3 separate regions of the Homo sapiens genome follow, and all the other regions are linked to region 1. Evidence: promoter capture Hi-C in 16 types of primary human blood cells and fetal thymus (Javierre and others, 2016). All regions are on one chromosome and are shown on one strand. The core of a region is centred on a gene start or on the middle of the fragment in contact, and the rest is flanking DNA. Distances in the headings are between cores, read along the strand shown.

The links. Contacts are between HindIII fragments. The CHiCAGO score rates a contact against its expected background, and 5 or more counts as called.
Region 2: a contact is called between a fragment that was not itself captured here and the fragment with the promoter of RTTN in region 1, in 1 of 17 cell types (total B cells). The highest score is 6.9, in total B cells.
Region 3: a fragment that was not itself captured here is called in contact with the fragment with the promoter of RTTN in region 1 in 1 of 17 cell types (total B cells); the score reaches 11.6 in total B cells.

The regions. Positions count from the first base shown.
Region 1 is chr18:70,203,780-70,208,528 of GRCh38, forward strand. It overlaps RTTN (rotatin), which reads right to left and starts at 1,908. Exons shown (of 49, transcript NM_173630.4): 1 at 1,849-1,908; 2 at 1,349-1,536; 3 at 307-484. The coding sequence starts at 1,879. It overlaps LOC105372180 (a long non-coding RNA gene), which reads left to right and starts at 2,010. Exons shown (of 3, transcript XR_935599.3): 1 at 2,010-2,795; 2 at 3,250-3,315. RefSeq lists enhancers at 1,608-1,737, 1,948-2,057, 1,976-2,605, 2,068-2,307. The HindIII fragment of the contact is 5,232 bases long and covers 426-4,749 here.
Region 2 is chr18:41,938,605-41,943,353 of GRCh38, forward strand. No RefSeq gene overlaps it. Among named protein-coding and RNA genes, the nearest start is that of PIK3C3, 14 kb to the right of the region's middle. The HindIII fragment of the contact is 589 bases long and covers 2,223-2,811 here.
Region 3 is chr18:41,960,571-41,965,319 of GRCh38, forward strand. PIK3C3 (phosphatidylinositol 3-kinase catalytic subunit type 3) reads left to right here. Exons shown (of 25, transcript NM_002647.4): 3 at 1,919-2,062. Among named protein-coding and RNA genes, the nearest start is that of PIK3C3, 7.7 kb to the left of the region's middle. The HindIII fragment of the contact is 7,419 bases long and covers 1-4,749 here.

The DNA of each region.
Region 1 (4,749 bases), core at 658-3,157:
ATGAGCACTCATGTGCTCAATAAAAATACATTGTTATTGCCAAAAAAATAATCTGTCAAACTGGCCTCATAAAAGCAAAGTCACTGGCATCGTTTAGGCCTGACCCAAAAAGCAATTAATGCAAATGTACCATCCTTTGACTAACAGTAGAGGAGGGGAAAAAGGTCAAAATCATGTAAGTTAACACAAGAAAAATAAGTTTGGGGGAGGTGGGAGAAATCCTTTTTAAAAAAATCTAATCTCCCTTTCCTTAAAATTTACCATTAGAATTAATATATTTGTATTTAACAGATTCCAAAGAGTTACCAGTTTGATTGGTTTGGTATGAGGCAGAAGATAGTGCAGGAACTTCCGAAGGAAGAAGAAAAAGTCCATCCAGAATGCCATCAATTTCAGCCTGCAGATTTGGCTCCACATTAGACCGAAGCTTAGATAAGAACTCTACTGCACCAACGTCAACCAAATGTTGGACTGCTGGGGGATACTAAAATAAGAAGAGGATGATCTTGAGAATAACTGTATCAAAATCTCTATAACTTACAGCAATCAAAACATAAAATTATTTTTGGTATATCAGATGTTCCTTTTCTGAAAAACAAATCCTTCATGGCTCTGCCCCGAAGTAAGGCACTTCCATGAGGAGCACATACACCTATAGAGACATACATCCAACACTTGATAACATTTATGAAAGATGAGCCAACACACTGAACGCTAGAAATGCACATTATCAATCCCTACTCTTATTTTTTTAATGGGTTACTTTTTTCCACTGACACTCACCTTATGGTCCCAGCCCCAACCGGTCAACAGGATGTCAAAGTAGTTTAAGATTCCTCTACCATTGTACAGTGATTTAGTTTTGAAAGGTTAAACTTACACTTTGATATCTGACCCCGATAACTAACTACTCTTGAGGTAGGCATAAGAATACCAATCTAAAAGCATATGGGCAAGCAACTTAACATTGGTATTTATGAATCACGGTTATGTAACATTATTTTTAAAGTGCTCCCTTTCATACTGACATATCTAGTTTTTAAGATGTAAATGTCAGAAAACAAAAACAGAATACAAATATTAACCTCCAAAGATAACTCAAAAACACAGAACATACCAAAACTCAAAAGAAGTTCTGTGTTACTTCTGAGCACAGCAGAGACCATGTGGGATTCAGTATCACAAATAAAAGATGAACCATATACCCAGATTAATTAAAATTAAACATCTCTGGTTGATTAAAAAAACTTTTAACCCCAATTATTTAACTTTCAATAAACGCTACAATTAAATGACTAAGAAACAAGTCACTCGTCTGATTATTTTCTTTATTTCAAAATGACCCTACCTTAACCAATCTGCTTAACAGGTTCAGAACCTCTTCCTTCATCGGAACGGACGGGAAATTGAACCATTCCAGCAAATGAAGAAAAAGTTGCCTCTCCTGAATGAGATCAGCGTAGCAGATTAAGTTGTGCTCAATCTTGCAGAGAATACTCTTGAGAGCGCGCTCCCTGATCTCGGCCAGCTGATGACCTGTCAACGAACGGCACAAAACTATTTTATTTCCCGACTGCAAAGAGACTACGTTATTTATGCTGTGGGCAGGAGCGGCGTGAAGACGGAATAAACCAGTTTTTTTCAGAAGCAGGCCACTGGTGCCTTCGGGACGCGAACCGCGAAGTTTACACAAAGTCCGAGATGGGTCCCCGGGGGCTATCCTGACAAAGCGGGGGTGAAAGAGGGAGCGGTCGCGGAGCGGCCGGCCGCGGAAACGTGACACGACCATTCTCAGCAAGTGGCCAGAGCGCGGGGGGTGCCTTGGGCGAGGGGCAAGCTGACAGTTACCGAGTTTCCTGATGAGCCCTGCCAGGACCATCTCGTCCCGTCAATCTGCAGCCGCCGGAGAATTAAACTGCCGCGCCACTGCGTCCAGCCACAATTAATGTACCCCCGGAAACACGTCCTGTGGGACGGTGAGTTCCGCAACGCCTGCGCTCACCAGGAGTAGGAGTCATTACGTGAGCCCTTCGCGGCCCCAGCGTCGCCAGGAGAGCTTCCAGCCTCTCTAGAATCACTACTGCGCACTTCCTGGACAGCAGTCTCCGTCGCAAGAAGCGGAGGGAAAAAAAAAAGCAACAAGCAGGGATAGAACCAGCGTTGGCCGCCGCGCACGTCGGGAGTTGTAGTTCTGGCTAGGCCGTGCGTCCTGCACCGATCTCCGGGCCCGCCGCGGCGCCCGCTGGCCTGGGGTTCCGGCTTACAGCGCGGGAATTCGGGAACCCAGCGCGGGCTGCAGAGGCCCCAGCAGGAGCCCCGCCTCCCGGCTCGTCGACGGATTCGTTCTTGGCCCTGCCAATCTGATTCTCAGCTCCCAGAACTTCACGATTTAGAATGTAGACTTTTGCTTTGTGACAGTTCTCCCCATCCCCGACTACTAAATGACGAACCCTCTTTAACTGTGAAATGTACCTGCAAAGTCAAGCAGTGTCTTTGGATACCCAAGTTCAGATATGAACAAGCAAGCTACAAAAGCGGGGTGGGCGGGTATGAGTGAGCAGAAGAGAGAAACCGGGCTGCAAAAAAGGAAAATAAAGGCGGGACGTGGGGGTATGATTTGCTGAATGGTACCAAAGTTGATTTTTTGCACCGTGCACAGTGATCGAGCTGAGCAAATTATTTTTTTTTTAATTATAAGCAGCGGTAAGAACAACAACAAAATTACATTTGGAAAATGATTTGCATTTTCTCGGTCTGATCATTTCACGTTCCCTGGGAAAGGGATGTCAAGGCAGGTAAAGTGGGCCCTCGGTATCCCTAGGTAATTGGTTCCAGGACCCCCGCAGATACCCAAATCCACCCATGCTTAAGTCTCTTTTATAAAATGGTGTAGTATTTGCATATAACCTACACACATCCTCCTATATGCTTTAAATCATCTCTAGATTGCTTACAATACCTAATACACTGTAAATGCTATGTAAATAGTTGTTACACTGTACTTTTATTCATATTATTTTTTAATTGTTGTATTGTTATTTTCAACTGTGGGGTTTTTTCCCGAATATTTTCCATCCCGTGTGTTGAATTCTCTGTGTGCAACCAGTGGACAGCAAAGGCCTACTGTATTCCCATTCCTATTTTGCCAAAGAGGAAACTTAGAATCACAAAAGTACCCCCACACAAAGTCACATTAACTAGTAAGTGACAGATTGAGGAGCTGACCTGATGTTTCTTTGTTCTATTTAGAGTGCCTTGCTGCCTCCTCATGTGTGTCAATAGGAGAGTGATGATATTTGAGTTGGATCTTAAAGAGTAAGTAGGAGTTTGCCACACAAAGAAGTTGGGTAAGGAAATTCCTGCAGGAGAAACCTGTATTTGCAAAGGCAAGAATCCAGACGGAGTGTGTCAAATTCGGGAAAAGAACAAAATTCAAGGTGGCCATATTATCTCTGGGAAGAAGAGAGGAAGGGCAAGATTGCTGCTAGCATGCTGGATATTCTCCATTCCACCTTCTAGTGGTTCCTCCCAGCTCTTCCAGCTCTGCATCAACTGACCTGAACAGGCAAAAAGACTGCACTATCCAGGCTGCCTGGCCCTCTGGCTTCCAGTTGGTTGCCGCCGATAGGAGGCATCAGCAGGAAATTGGAAAGTAGGAGGAAAGAGATACGGATATTAAACCAAGATTCCACTAGCCCATGCCTAAGCCTGCCTGGCCAAGATTGTAACAGTGGCTGAATTCCTTGACCCAAAGACCACATGTCCTGATGGATAGCATACCACAGTGGGCACTGCAGAACCAGTTACACCAACTCAGAAGTGTCTGTAGTTATCCAGGAAGGAAGGTGTTAATTACGGATTTGAAGTGTCAAGGTCAAAAAACACATGACAATACAGAAAAATAATAGAAATAACTTGTCAATGATGTTTCTGAGATGAACAATCTTAGGTGATGAGAGACTGTAGATGCAGTGGGGTAAGGGGCGATAATACTGTAGAAGAAATATAAAAAATCCATTGACTTAAAACAAGCATGTTACAAGTAAAATGGGGGTCAAACTATGAAAGGGTTTTACTTATGTTGCACCCAAGGTCAACATAAACATTTTATTTTATTTTCATTGTTGAGCATATATTGCTCCTGTAATTAGACAAAAATAATTAAATCCCATTCATTACATTCAAAGCAAATAATCTATCATTCTCCTATTAGACTATTGATTCAGCAATTTTTCCTAAAAAAAAATCAACCTTTGATTTATTAATTCTACTATTTAAAAACACACATATATATTCTAGTGTATTGACTGTATTATTTTTTACCAGTTACTTCACTCTGTCGCCCAGGCTGGAGTGCAGTGGTGTGATCTCCGCTCACTGCAACCTCTGCCTCCTGGGTTCAAGTGATTTTCCTGCCTCCACCTCCCACATAGCTGGGATCATAAGCATGAGCCACTATGCCCAGCTAATTTTTGTATGTTTAGTAGAGATGGGTTTTCGCCACAATGACCAGGTTGGTCTCGAACTCCTGACCTCAAATGATCCTCCTGCCTCGGCCTCCCAAAATGCTGGAATTACAGGCGTGAGCCACCGCACCTGGGCTACATCCTTCTTTAAGTGTGTTTTGCTGTTCTTTTTTTAACTTCTTAAGCTAAAGGTCTTGTTTACATTCTTTCTTTATTAGTTATAGAGAATTTTAAGTCCATGAATTTGCATGTAAAAAAAGTTTTAATCATGTATCATGAGTTT
Region 2 (4,749 bases), core at 1,267-3,766, about 28 Mb before region 1:
AATTCTCAGAGTAGAGCTTTCATGGACTGTCCGCCTACTTCTAAATCATGCTCATGACTAAGCCAAGCACACCAAGCCTCACATTCATGTTTGCCCCTGGTGGGATTCAGGACACATTACGCTGAAATATGGCACCTTGACATTTGAGAAAACAGCAGAGGCAGGAAGTTCTCCCTCATCTTTCCCTGCTTTTCCCCCATAAAGCAGGTCATAAAAATCTAGAAAGTGGCTGGGTATGGTGGCTCATACCTGTAACCCCAGCACTTTGGGAGGTCAAGGCAGGCAGATTGCTTGAGCCCAGGAGTTTGAGACCAGCCTAGGCAACATAGCAAAACCCTGTCTCTACAGATTTTTTTTTAATTAGCTGGGCATGGTGGCACATGCTTGTAGTAGCAACTACTCGGGAGGCTGAGGTAAGAGGATCACCTGAGCCTGAGAGGCAGAGATTGCAGTGAGCCATGAGCACACCACTGCACTCCAGCCTGGGTGACAGAGAAAGGCCTTGTCTCAGAAAAAAAAAAAAAAAAATCTAGAAACGATCTTCTGGCTTCCCTATGTAGGTCATAAGACCCTCACATGAAAGGTACTCTCCTTATGCCTGTAAGAAAGGAGCATCCTTATCTCTGAAGACAAAGGGTCACAGAAAAGAATCTGAACCATTTCTTTGGATCTTTATGTCTTTATGAAGAGTCCCATTTCATGTAGAACTTATGTTAAATAAAGTTGTATGCTTGTCTCTTGTTAATATTTCTTGTTATAGAGACCTCAGATACAAAGCTAAGATGGGTAGAGAAAAAGATATTTTTCCTCCCCTATGCCTTTTGCCACCAGAAATCCAGTTCATCCATCATTACCCAAATTATCATTCCCATTTGTCCATACAGCCTCTAATCTCATTCAATTTCCTCCCTGACTCACTCCCATTCCTTTCACTGAGCCTTCTGTAACTGCATTCTGAGATCAGCATGGTAGTCTCAGCCTCATTTCTGAATAGTTCCTTACCTGTGTGTGCCTTAAAAATATCTATGCCCTCACGGTCACACTCTCCCTTCCAAATGGAAGCTGTTTCTTTTTTCCTCTTATACACTACCTACTTCAGGGTCATGTGGTAGATTAGACATACGTGTGACTCCCACTCCTGCTTCTAACCATTTCTCCTTCATCCCCCTTCAAATGAGGGCCAGTTTATCCACTGGGCATGGAAGACACAGAGCCCAAGGCCCATGATACTTTCAGGAGAGTAGCAAAGTATTTTTTTTCTTTTAAAATCAGAAGAAAGAAAATATATGATCTAACCTGAATTATATTTATGTTTTACTAATGTGGTTATAAAACACACTTTCTAGTATTTTTTCTATAAAGGAAGGGGTTAATATGCTCAGGATCTAGGAGTCATAATGTGTCCCAGCTTCAAACCCTTAGCTCTTTCTTTCTTGGAGAAGTAAGCCAGAAGAAAACAAAAACAAAAACAAACAACAACAACAACAACAAAATGGCTCTTTCCAAGCTCCGGCCACCAGAGTCCAATACCTCTACTTCCCTACTCACCCACCTGAGAAGCAGGATCTGCCCTTATTTATTTAGGAATGGACTCCAGGTCACTATTTTTCTCTCCATCTAGATATAATATCTGGAGTCAGCCAAATTGTATACTGAAGCATGAATGCAAGAGACCTCTAGATCAGTGTAGTTTCTCCACTGGATCGGAGAAGGTGTATGTATGTGGGTTTGGGTGGGTGCAGGAGTGAGGAGTGCGAAAAGGGTCATTGCTAGAGCTGCAACATTGAATTTCCTGTTCATTCTGGATTAACTCAGATATTGGGGAGTAATTGAATCTCCAGGTAGAATGCCTTGGCAGGCCTGAGGAAAGGGATAGGGAAAGCAGAGAGACGCATAGCAAATGAGGTTGAGGACAACACAATCATTTGAGTTTTTCAGCATTTTTTCTCTCCCTCTCTGTAGCCTTGGTCAATCTCATTTACCTAGCAGGGCTGGATGAAGGAAGAGGAGAGGAAGCAGATCAGTGTGCTCATGGCTCAATACTGCTAAGAATCTCCTTGCATTCCACCTTTGGCCTAGCAGACCACATGCCTTCTGTCTGACTGTGCCATTCCCTGAAAGAAGCGTGTGAGTTTTCAAAGTATTTCAGCACATCCTGTAGGGAAAGCAAATGCTCATCAAAATGGATGTAGAAAAAAATCCTGAATCCTTATTTCCCCTGAAGCTTCCTACATTCTTGAAGTGCAAAGTAGAGAGAAGAGCTCAGTGTTTGCGCAGAGGGTTCTTGATGCTGTAAAAGCCAGCTCAAGAGAGTGGCAGGCAGTACTCATTAGGCAGGCATAGGAGGAAGCCTTTTCTTCAAAAGGCAGGAGACAAGTTAGCAGCTGATGGGGCAGATATGTTTGTTTAGCTAGCGCTTGGTCCTGGGACTGCTCTTGGTGAAGGATGATTACCTGGGGTCAGAAAATGACCCTGCCCCAGGCATCTATCTCCCCTTCTAGGTCTCTCTCTCTCTCTCTCTGTGAAAATACCGATTTACATCAGGAAGCAGCCCAGCTTCATAATGATGTCGACTGCCTCTCTGCAGATGCAATCTCTGATTGACGGGGTGTAGGGAAGGAAGGAGAAAGACAAAAAAAGTTTATGAATTCACTCTGAGATTCAAATCACATCAATGGCCCTGCCAGCCTTCTTAAGCATAAAATTGGGCATCACAGAGATCAACATTACATGTGTTGATATTTCTCTTTCTCCACCTTTACTCTGAATCTCTGTCTAATATCCTAACAACCTACTGGACTTACAAAATCAAGCTTCATCCCCACCTGTCCGTGCCCAACCTTCTTACATAAGGTAAAACAGGAATGGAGATTCTTGCTTTTTGGTTTTTTTTCCCTAAATCATCACTCTCCTGGGACACTAGGAAAACAGAACTTATTGGCTGACACTTGAAGAAATTTCTATCCAAGTTGCTTCTATGGGATGACCCAAGGTTATTTATTTAACTATTTGTCTCAATATTTAAAAGATTAGCATATTAATAAAATAGAAACTTGCGAATACTATCACCCACATGAAGCAATTAATCAAAAGATAAACAACTTAGCATCAATACATTTGCTTTTGAGTGTCAGTATCTGTCAGGCACTGTTCTGGAAATTTTGGTAAATATATAAAAACATATGTTATATTCCATGCTGATCAATGTGGGCTGAAAAAGCAAATACATGTGTGAGATAGGAAAAAATAAAAGGCAGCATACTAAATAAAAAGTACCAGTGGTTTTGTAGTTCTGTTCATCTCTCCTATACAACATGCAAGTCCCAGGTTCAAATGATACATAAAATGGTGGGGGCCTTTTCCCTTTGATCTAAGATCATTTGTGAGGCTGAAAAAAATAATCAACAGATCAAAGAAAGATTCTAGGTCATGACAGGATTATTCAAATCAGTATTGGAAAAACCAGCATTTTAGAATGGCATCTCCTATAGAAAAAGGAAATCTGTCCAGGTGCAATGACTCACACCTGTAACCCCAGTACTTTGGGAGGCCAAGATGGCAGGATCGCTTGAGCAAAGGAGATCGAGACCAGCCTGAGCAACATATGCAGACCCCTGCCTCTACAAAAAAATTGAAAAGTTAGCTGGGCATAGTGGCACTTTCCTGTAGCCTGTAGTCCTAGCTACTTGGGAGCCTGAGGTGGGAGGATCACTTGAGTCTGGGAGGTCGAGGCTAAATGAGCCATGATTGTGCCACTAACTGCACCCCAGCCTGGGTGACAGAGGGAGACCTTATCTCGAAAAAAAGAAAGGAAAGGAAAGGAAAGGAAAGGAAAGGAAAGGAAAGGAAAGGAAAGGAAAGGAAAGAAGAAAGGAAGGAAGGAAAAAAGGAAAGAAGGAAAAAGAGAAAGAAAGAAAAGGGGGAATCCACAGCTTCTGTGCATTGCATGGAAAAATACTTCCAATACAGTAATACTAAAGTTGGCTGGGATTGTAAATACTAAAATGCATTCAACATGTATTTGTACCATACTAAATAACTATGCATCAAGAACCATTAAAGACAAAAATAGCATGCTGTATAATTTTGCCTTCAAAATATTTCTTTCTTCATATAGTTTTAAATTATTTTAGTTTAACTTATAAATAGTTAAATCCACTAAGACATCTTTTATTTTTATCAGAGGGTTATAGTGCAGACAGAAGTCAATCCCTTTGCAGAGGGCCCAAATGATAATATGTTTAATCAATAGATGTAAAAACTCCAGAATGAAACTATGAGTAGAAAAGAGGAAAAGGGAAAGCAAATAGACTATGCTGAAACTGAAACAAAGGTTGAAGAGGAAATAATTTCACTGAACCCACAAATTGTCAACTACATCCTAGACTTCTCTTCAGCTCTGTTTGGAGAAACTTGGAATATGGGACCCAAACAACTAAGAAAATTGATCTTTTCCAAAAACTTTTTATTTATTCATTTTTTAGCTACATTTTGTTGTCAACTGGATTTTTTTAAGTGCGCCTGGAACTGTTACCTATTTATTTGTTTATTTATTTATTCATTCATTCTTGAGATGGGGTCTTACTATATTGCCCAGACTGCTCTTGAACTCCTGTTCTCCAAGGATTCCCTTGCCTTGTAGCTGAGATTACAGGCACACACCACTTTGTGGGGCCAGAAAACTGATTTTATTTAGGCTACTGCAATAGGGAGAACACCTCAGGTCTGAAGACCAGAGTTTCTTGGCAG
Region 3 (4,749 bases), core at 1,012-3,511, about 28 Mb before region 1:
GTAATCTTAAGGTTAATGAGGGTTAGCGGATGGGGTAGGGATGATTCGTGAAGAGGAGGAGAACGAAGTGGTGTCCAAAATATATACCTTTTTGGTGTCTGACTAGATTTTTCTATAACTTCTAGAATATCTAGAGCAGTTTTCAAACTTTTTGACTGAAGGATCATTTTTTCTTTTTTCTTTTTTTTTTTGAGATGGCGTCTCGCTCTGTCGCCAGGCTGGAGTGCAGTGGCATGATCTTGGCTCACTGCAGTCTTCACCCTCTGGGTTCAAGCAATCTCCTGCCTCAGCCTCCCAAGTAGCTGGGACTACAGGCGCGCACCACCATGCCCGGCTGATTTTTGTATTTTTAGTAGAGACACGGTTTCACCATGTTGGCGAAGCTCATCTTGAACTCCTGACCTCAAGTGATCTGCCTGCCTCGGCCTCCCAAAGTAGGATCATTTTTTTCAAAAGAACTCTTCTGCAGAAGCCTCGTATATAAAACATATTAAGTGCAGTTGCTTTGATTGAAAGTGGTGTTGCCTGGTATTGGATAGCAAAAGGTTTGAGACAAATGATTAGTTGGTCATTGGTGTTGTCTGGTAGTCATTAAAGGACAGAATACAGAATAATAAATTCCACAATATTATCCAAAAAGAAATTTGGATAATATCCAAAACATTATTTTGGATGTTATCGCTTATTGTTGTCTTCAACTTTAGCCAGTGTTAATTAACTTCTGTGGTTTATTCATTGGCAAAAGTTGGCACTGCTTAGTGTTTTTCTTTCTAGCCTGCCCTACCATGTGGCTAGTAATTAGATAATTTTATTTAGTTGTTTGAGCCTATTTGTAGTAGATACTGGCTTTCTTAAGCATGTGATTAAAAAAGTATTTCATAGAAGAAAAGGATTTAATAACTCCTTTTTCTTGAAATTGATAGCCATCTCTAATTTATATGGCGTATATAAATGATTTGTTGTTTAAGTTTTTGGAAATTTTGTTAAATGTTTTAGCAATACAGATGTATTTAACATAGACTAGGATATGTCCCTTAGATAATAACTTTGAATGAACAGAATAATTTTGAGTAAACAGAAATAGAATTCTATGTGTCTGCTAGGTATTAGTTTGGCATATTGTTGGCACAGTATTCTTTTGGAATTTAAAAGCCAGCTCCTCTTGAAGAGGGTTGAAATTATCAAATGAATACAGTGTGAAATTTAAAAGTATAAGAAAATTTACATAAATATATAGAGGGTTTAAAAAAAAAGAGCTGTGGTGTCATTAACTATATTATTATTAACAAACATTCCTCAGTGAAAGAATATATACAGATGTGCTTTGAAAGCATAAAGCACTAATAGCTTAATGTTATCAGTATTAATGAAATCATTTGAGGAACAGAAAATTCTCGCATAAGAAGTCACATATCTGTCTGGAGCAGTCTGGTAACTTCATGTGATAAAGGTAGTAGATTTTCTACTTTGAGTTTTTGTTTTGATTGTTTTTTTTCCTGATTTATTCTCAGAAGTGCTTTTGAGTATGAGTAATTTTGATTATTTTATCTTCATAATGTAAATTGGGTTTTGAAGAGTGGTTAAAGAAAATCATGGTTTGTTTAAAAAGTTCTAACAGGTTGAAATGTTTTCCCAGGTTTTTTTCGCCATTATATTATCTGGTGTCTTGGTGTTTTCTGAGTTTTATTAAAAAATTTAACAGAGCTGTTTTTCATGAGCTCTATTAAAACAATTATGTTTTTATTTAAAATGGAAAGTTGCCTTTAGCAAAATTGAGGTGACTGCCATATTATTTTTTAGAGTCTAACAACATTTTTGGAACCTTTTCCTCTGGCCAAAACTTTTTGTGTGGTTTGTTAATTTAAAAGAAAGATATATATATATGTATTTCTGATTTATGTTAACTTCATTTCCATAGCTGGAATGAATGGCTGAAACTACCAGTAAAATACCCTGACCTGCCCAGGAATGCCCAAGTGGCCCTCACCATATGGGATGTGTATGGTCCCGGAAAAGCAGTGCCTGTAGGAGGAACAACGGTTTCGCTCTTTGGAAAATACGGGTAAGCATTCTGTTGGTCTCATCTGTAGGAGTGTAGCAGCTTTCTGACCCTTTTCTTTTTCGGAATGAGGGAAGGCTTTAATAGTTTATGCTCAGTCTCCAGTGTAAACCAGTTAGGTACATATGATTTGATCATTCCTTACACTGATTTTAACATATATTTCCTACAGGATATACAGATAGATTAGGAAATACAATTTATATTGCTCTTCTGTTGGTGATTTAATGTGATTTCTAGTAGAAAATAGAAGTCATTGGGAAATAGAACCTTGCTTTTAGGGAAAAGTGACTATGACATATAACTGCTTTGTTACAGGGTTTATCTGCTTTTTTTATAATATTGACAGAAAGGATGAAAAACAGGATTAAAAAGCATTCATTAGCTAATGATGGTAATGATTGTGATAGAAAAGATAATTCAGTTTTTGAAACATTTGCAAATACTAGATGTTAATTGTTAAAAAAAAAATCCCATAGTCCCAAAGGATATTTTCTCTATATCGTTTTTCTCCTGGGACAGAGGACTCAGTCTGTCTTTAGAGAATTTGTGACATTCTGTTATTATTCTGCATTTACTAATAGGAATTTTTCACTAAAGAACTTGGTCCTTCATCAAGTATTTACTTAGTTCATATAGGAAAGACAGATAAATATTTTAACTTTCTTTCCCTTTACCGATTTTAAGACTAATGAGTTTGTGCCCTAGTAACTTGCAAAGGTGGTGATCGATGGCTTTTGTGCATTTTGTTTTTTATGTGTTTTAGTCCATTGCTGTCTTTACTCTTTATAATGCTCAAAAAATCTCATTTTTGGTCAGTAGGAGACCCTTCAAGTAGACCCCGTGTCCTTTTGGCAGTACACTACTAGTGATTGGTAGCTTCTTTGCTTTCTGGTAGACAAGTTTTTCCAGGCTCATTTGGTAATTTTCTGCTCCAGACCTGGAATCTCTGAAAGAAGTTCTGGTTCCTTTCAGTGTGAAATGCTATAGATCTGTCTGGATATTACAAATGTCTTAATTTTTGTCTACTTTAAAGTTAAAAAATGTTATTTAATTTTTACATCATTAAGTATGAGGAGGATTGTATTTTGGAGTGTTTATTGACTATTTGTGTTTATGTTTCCATGAACTGCTTTTTGATGTACTTTGTCCTTTTTAGAAATTGAGATATAATTCACATATCATAAAATTCTTTGCTTTTTTTTTTTTTTGAGTTGTCGTTTTCTTATTGATATATAAGGAGTCTTTGTAGATGAATGGAATTAGCCCTTTGTGGGTTATGTTACAAATACTGCTTTTCTGGTTTGGTTTGTTCTTTTGAATTAGTATGTATTTGTTTGCTCTTCATGGATTTTAAATTATTATCTTGAATCTATCAGTTTTTAGTTTTTGGGCTGTGAATTTAATGTTTTAGGAAGTTCCCATTTAAGATTCTTTAAAATGGTTTCTTCTGTTGTGCTTTTATTCCTTTATATTAAAATCTTTGATTTATCTAAAATTACTTTTGTGAAAGAGTGGTATAGTGAGAATAGCTTTTTAGAGAAAACCAAAACAAATGGTTTGAATATTTGTCCCAACACTGCTTATTAAATAAGTCATCTTATCCAGCTATTTTAAAATAGCATCCTTATATACTCAATTCATCATGTGTTGAAGTCTAAGAGAGGCATTATAGTGTATAGTGCTATAGTGGTTAGGAAAGCAAGTTGTAGATTATCTGGCTTCAAATCTTGGCTTCTTTGCTTAGTATCTGTGTATCCTTGGGCAGATTATTTAATCTTATGCCTCAATGTCTTCATATGTTAAATGAAAGAACAATAGTATCCACCTCATTGAGTAGTTTATGATTGTTACATTACTAAATACATTTAATGGGCCTGATAAATATTATATCATATATTTATGTATTGAATAAATATTATAATGACCTTAATAAATACTAGGTATCCTTCCTGGGCTATTCTGTCAGTTAGGATAGTATTATAAAATGTTTAAGTATTAGGTAAGGATAATTCTTATTAGTCTTTCTTTTAAAATATTTCCAGGTTTGTTTTGGCAGATACATTTTAATATTTTCTCAATTAAAAAACTCAATGTTATTTTGTTAGAAAATCTTACTGAATTATATATGTTAATTAAAGAGAGAATTGATGCCTTTATAATATTAAATTTTCCTATCCAGGAAAAGAGTGTGTCAGAAAGGCTTCTAAACTCATGAATGAAATCTAGATGTAATCCCATTTGGAATAGCTTGGTTGCTTACAAATACCTAGGTATTTTAGTTTAATGTGGCTATTAAAGAGATATTTGTTATTAAAATTCATACAGGAAAAATAACTTAGATGTAGTCTGAAACATTGTAACTTTCAGTTTTAAAATATACTTTTTGATAAAATAGCATGTTACAGCAGAATGGACATATTGCTAAATCAGTATTGTTTCTTTTACAGAGTGTTTACCCCTTATTTTTTGTTACTAGGGAGGGGCTTGTTTGCAACAGAGAAGAAAAAGAAAAATGTACAGCTCTTCTTAGTGGCTAAATATTTTTGAGAAATAACCAGACATTCCTCTTGGTTTTTCCTCCCAGATTCATCACAAGTGGTTTACCTTCTGGAATATCAACAGGAGGTTCCCTCATAAAAACACCTGCGTTAGTACTCATGCATTTTAGGGGACTTTAGGATCTAGTT